Regions from separate parts of the Homo sapiens genome. Here region 1 is linked to region 2. The links are contacts of gene promoters, found by promoter capture Hi-C in blood cells and fetal thymus (Javierre and others, 2016). All regions are on one chromosome and are shown on one strand. The core of a region is centred on a gene start or on the middle of the fragment in contact, and the rest is flanking DNA. Distances in the headings are between cores, read along the strand shown.

What was found. Contacts are between HindIII fragments. The CHiCAGO score rates a contact against its expected background, and 5 or more counts as called.
Region 1: a fragment that was not itself captured here is called in contact with the fragment with the promoter of ABHD10 in region 2 in 1 of 17 cell types (fetal thymus); the score reaches 5.1 in fetal thymus.

What each region holds. Positions count from the first base shown.
Region 1 is chr3:111,327,707-111,330,406 of GRCh38, forward strand. No RefSeq gene overlaps it. Among named protein-coding and RNA genes, the nearest start is that of CD96, 210 kb to the right of the region's middle. The HindIII fragment of the contact is 1,263 bases long and covers 814-2,076 here.
Region 2 is chr3:111,977,551-111,980,409 of GRCh38, forward strand. It overlaps ABHD10 (abhydrolase domain containing 10, depalmitoylase), which reads left to right and starts at 1,476. Exons shown (of 5, transcript NM_018394.4): 1 at 1,476-1,653. The coding sequence starts at 1,512. RefSeq lists enhancers at 1,118-1,677, 1,536-1,585, 1,596-1,645, 1,666-1,715. The HindIII fragment of the contact is 3,690 bases long and covers 1-2,780 here.

The sequences.
Region 1 (2,700 bases), core at 195-2,694, 650 kb before region 2:
ATCGAGACCATCCTGGCTAACATGGTGAAACCCTGTCTCTACTAAAAAATAACAAACAAACAAAAAAAATTAAACAGCCATGGTGGTGGGCACCTGTAGTCCCAGCTACTTGGGAGGCTGAGGCAGGAGAATGGCGTGAACTCGGGAGGCAGAGCTTGCAGTGAGCTGAGATTGTGCCACTGCACTTCAGCCTGGGTGACAGAGCAAGACTCTGTCTTAAAAAAAAAAAAAAAAAACCACTAAATCATACACTAAAAAAAGGTAGATTTTATGCTATTTGAATTCTTTTTCAATTAAAAAAAGTCTACCCATTCTCTAAGTTTTACTGATCTTCCTGAGCATATCTCCCAATCTGATCTGTTTGACTCTTCCTTTGAATATTTATCTTAGGCAGACCACTTTTATGCAACTGCCATGGCCTTCTCATATTTGTGTGACTTTCAAAGGTTTAAATGGGATGTATATTGAGATGGATATTACCACTAGAGACTGGTTGGTTATCCATAAAGAAACTATATAGGTAGCATTATAGTAGAGAAACTGCTGTGGTCCAACCCGTAATTCTAGCCTCACTATTCAAAAATTCTATCTTGTCAGTGTTCCACGTCAATCACATCTAGCTCACAATTCTTAAATGCACAAAAGTATGAACATGAGCCAAGAATGAAATTATGTTAATTTAGAATGAGATCAACTGTCTAGTAAACTGGTCATACTAGTGGATGGTCGTTCTCTGGCTATACAACAAATGCAATAGCAAAAGCCAGAAATTTGCTTGGTAGGCATGTAATCAGAGCGATGCTGTGATTCAAAAGCTTGGTACAAAAGATACTCTAGTCAAAAGCAGCTTCACAGTAGGGCTAAACCAGACAACAGAATTCAATAGTGTTTATCTCTGTGGCTCTCCTTTATCCAAGGATCACCTGATTCTTGTCCATCTTGCTTCTAGTCCAGGAAATATTCTATCTCCATGCTGCCGTTTTACAGACTTCTGATCATTCCTTATTCTCTGATTTCATAATTTGAATCCTAGAAAGAAGCCTTGCAGTAGTCCCAGCCAATGCTTGTTTTTTTCCCTCCTTGAGATTGTAAATTCCATAAGACAAAGACTGACTAGAGATTTGTATCTCTTGCAGTACCTACCATAGATCTGAGTGTTATAAGTATGATTAAAATGAACTGAATCTTGAGGAAATGTGCTATCTTCAAAACACATTTATTGGTAACTTTCTTTTCCTTCATGATATTGTGTATGACAATAGCAGAAATTTAAAATTCTGTCAATGTGGCTAATGTCAATTTCCTGCATTATATTGCTTCTCTATATTGAATAGATTTATTCTGAGGAATCCATGCCTTGTTTTATGTGAAGTCACTCAAGTAATTTTAACTCAAAAATAGCTATTACAAGTGCACTATCTTCTATTTCAGTGATTCTCAAACTTAGCTGTGAATCAGAATCACTGGGAGGGCTTGCTAAAACATAGATTGCTGATCCCCACCCCAGAACTTCTGATTAAGTAGGTCTGGGTTAGGGACCCAGAATTTGCATTTGTAACAGTCTTGTCCTCAGGTGGTGCTGATGCTGCTGGTTAAGAACTAAGTATGCTTGGAGAACCATTGCTCTCCTTCATCCCTCTTGGTCTTCAATGTTTGAATTGAAGCCTCAAAGTGTGGTCTGTGGGCCCAAAAACCTTCAGTACCCAAGAATTTATTAGAAGTCAAAGAGTTCGGGCCCCACTCGTGACCTCTGAGTCAGAATCTGGATTGTAACAAGATCGCTCAGGTGATGTGTATGCAAGTCATTAAAATTAGAGAAGCATTGACTTAGAGCACCAAGAGAGGTCACTTGCAAGCAGGCTAGAGAGGTGTCAAGTGAACAATGATCTAATTAAAAGTAACAGGAACCTGCAAGTGTGCTACATTGTGCATATTTAAGACTAAGCTGAGAGCAAAGAAAACAATGTGACTAAATCAGTCAGGGTCTTGGCAGGACACAGATGGGACTGAGTACTCAAAGAGGGAATTAAAGAGACTTTATTAAAGACATTATGTTAAAAGATATGGGCAGGATCAAGCTTACCTATAATAGATGATAAAACACTTATTAATATCAGCAAGAAGCTCTTACCACCAGTAGGCCTAAATGGCAAGGAGATCTGAAGGGAAGTGGAAGGCAGAAAAACACCCAGACTTCTTCTTCTTCTCATCCTTTAGTATCCTCATGCCTTCCACTGGCCAAATCCACCTAGAAGGCCAAGGGCACCCCAACCTAGCTAATACAGCCTCTAGAAGTCAGCCTCCTAGGGGCACAGAGAAGAATGCAGCAGGGTGGAGAGCTCTCCCTTAAAAGAGTCATTTATTGTCCAGGTACCAGTCAGAGTAGGTCAGATTGAAAGTTATACCCTTATTTTTTTAATATCCAAATAAAAGTATATGGGGGAAATGTTAATAATGTTGATATAGAATCAAAAAAATTAATAATGTTGATAGAGAAAATCCAAATATTCCTTCTTCACCTGCAACTGAGAAAATCCTAATGTCTGCCACCAAAGGAGAAAGCCTACAAGGTGGCATGTAATAATAACTTAGATACCGGTCAGTGAGTCAGCTGGCCATTCTTGCTGACCAAGATTGTCTGTAGAGCTCATATTGTAAATGAGGAATGGAAAAGTGAATAGGTAGCTGATCATCTCAGTG
Region 2 (2,859 bases), core at 226-2,725:
TCTAACTGTTCCAGACTGTTCCAACAGTCCAGGTTCTCACGACTCCAAAGACATGCTGGATTCACTATATCCAAACTTTGCCTTTAATTCTGGTACCAATTACTGCCCCCCAAATTTATAACCAGGATAATAAAAGTTACTTTACTATCTTATATATACTCAAAGTATTACACAAGCCACCATAACTTTTAAATAGGAAACTACTACGTAAAACTCCATGGTTGATGCTTGAGGCCCCCAGGAATTAGTTTGAAAGGTATTTAGAGCTGGAGTCCGGAAACCCTTGTACTACAATTTATTCAACTATTTTTCTATTGTTAGCCATTCCCATTTTTTTCCTTCTCTTTGCCTCTAAAAACGGTGTAGTAGATAATATGCAGTCTTAAGAACTAGTGTTGTTTTTCTATAGGATAATCACAAATTGGTGCCACTGCGTTAAAAGGCACTGGAATGGATGCATATTTTAAAATTGTAATAGATGTGGCCATATTACTTCACAACAAATTTTAGTAATTCACCTTCCTAGCAATCATACATAAGTGCTAGTGTCTAGCATCCTTGCCAATTATTTTTCTTTTTTGCCAACTGAATGGGGGGAAAAAGGCATTATTTTTTTAATTCCAGTTTTTCATTTAGTGAGTTTGAGCATCATGTTTCCTTATATGGGCTGCCTATTTATAGCTGTTGGCCAATTTTATTTGAATTATATTTCTTATTTATAGGAGCAGGCTGAGTAGAAGTATTAATGTATCTATGCTACAAAATCCATTTTTCTAAGCTCTTAACTTGAGGTGTCTTTTGCCATTCAAAAAGTTTAAATTCGTATACAAATATATTTTTTATTTATGATGTTGGGGTTTTGAAATCTTGGTTAAGAAAGTCCCTTCTGTCCCCGGATTATATAATATTCTCCTAAAATTTATTTAATCCTCTCAGTTGTATTCTTCCGTTGAAATCTTTTTTTACTGAAATTTATTTTCGCATATAGCACGAGGAGGGGGCCAAGATAATTCAGTATTTCGTTAATCAGGCATATAGATCTAGAGCGGGGAATGTCCGATACCATTCCAGGTTATACAGGCGAGATTAATGTCAGATCTTGGGAGCATTTCCAGTACAGGTTAAAACTGTCACGCGGTCGGCGGGATTGCAGGTGATGCAGCAAGCCTGGTGTCCTCGACAGGAGACGTTTCCCATCTAGGACCGTTGGATAGGGTTCCTTTCTGAGCTTCCAGCTCTGTAGTATCTATCAGCCCGCTGATAGGGCAGCCTCCCGACGCCACTCAAAACATCTTAAAGGCCCCAAGCCAAACCCCGCTACTAGTAGAACCAACAGTCTAAACGAAAGAGCCACGACGCTCTGCGCATGTGCGCTCTTCGCAAGCTGAAAATCTTGCGGGGAGCTCTTTAGCAAGTTCCGCCTTCCAGCCTGAAGCGCATGCGCAGCCTCGGTTCCGTTGCGTAGCGTGTCCCTCAGTGGGACACTGCAGGGTGCGGGGACAACTACGAAGATGGCGGTTGCGCGCTTGGCAGCTGTGGCGGCCTGGGTACCTTGTCGGAGCTGGGGCTGGGCAGCCGTCCCCTTCGGTCCCCACCGTGGCCTCAGCGTGCTGCTTGCACGGATACCTCAGCGGGCGCCACGGTGGCTCCCAGGTCAGTGTCCGAAAGGCGGGAGTAGGATGCGTTCTTTCGAACGCCTCGGGTTCCGTCAGTTACCGTGCCTGTGCAGTGCGTCTTTGGCGCCCGGTTCAAAAATGCTCCTCCCCCTTTCTCAACACCCCAGTTCTAGGCGCTTTGTAGACTTCTGGTGAAGGCTGTGAGGAGAGCTCTGCCGCGGCCCTGCGGCATTCTGGGCACCCCGGGCCCTCGCTGGCGTTTTACACTGTGCAGTTTAAAGAGCTCCTGCTCCTTACCTGCCTCCCCTGCATTAAAGGCCAACACTAGAAAAAATTAAAATGTGCATTTAATGCATTATTATTAGTTACTTCTAGGAATTTGTAGATTGTGACTCCTAAAATGCTTAGACTGACTCTCCTTTGAGTTTAGGGAACCTAACAATGCGAGGCATGTTCTTTGTAAAAGTGTAGACGCCCTCATAAGCCTAATTTCTAGTTCTGCTTTCTTGCTGCACCCACTCAGTGAAAGAACCATAATCATTATTGCACAAAGGAAACTAGAATTTGGGCTAAAAATCAGAGAACCTCTTATATGTATATATAGTCTTTGAATTAGATCCTTTTATTTTTTTGGCTTTGTGTGTGGTTCACACCATTGCCACGTAGCTGTCAGATGATGCATGGTGCTTGGAGTGGTAATTAATGTCACGGCAGAGATCTTTTGTATGGAGATTTTTGTATCCAGTTTTTAAACTTTTATAATCAGATTAACTTGCATTTAATTGTGCGCAACCAAAAGGCATGTTACACATGCAAATACTCCTAGTAAAATGTAGTATGTCAATTCATTAACCAGAGTATAATATTATTTCATCTAGTTAGCACTTATTCATTGAGCACTTATGCACCAGGCTTTGAATTAATCCTTATGTTCAAAGATGATTTATGAATATAATTATATGAATCTGTCTACTTAGAACTTACATTAAATAAATTATAATCATCTCGGGGAAATTATGTTTTAAGAGGTGATTTCTGGAAGAGGATAGTGAGAATTTTTTTTAGTGCTCAGCTGAGTAGATGGGAAATGAACATGAGTGGATCAGCATAACTGGTCCTTACCAAAAGTTTTAAATTTGGCATATTTCTCTATACTTTGAAACAAGCTTTTATGTAAAAAGGATAACTTTAAGGCCTTCAGTTACATCTTTAAAAAATCAACTTCTTAATTACAAAATGGGGA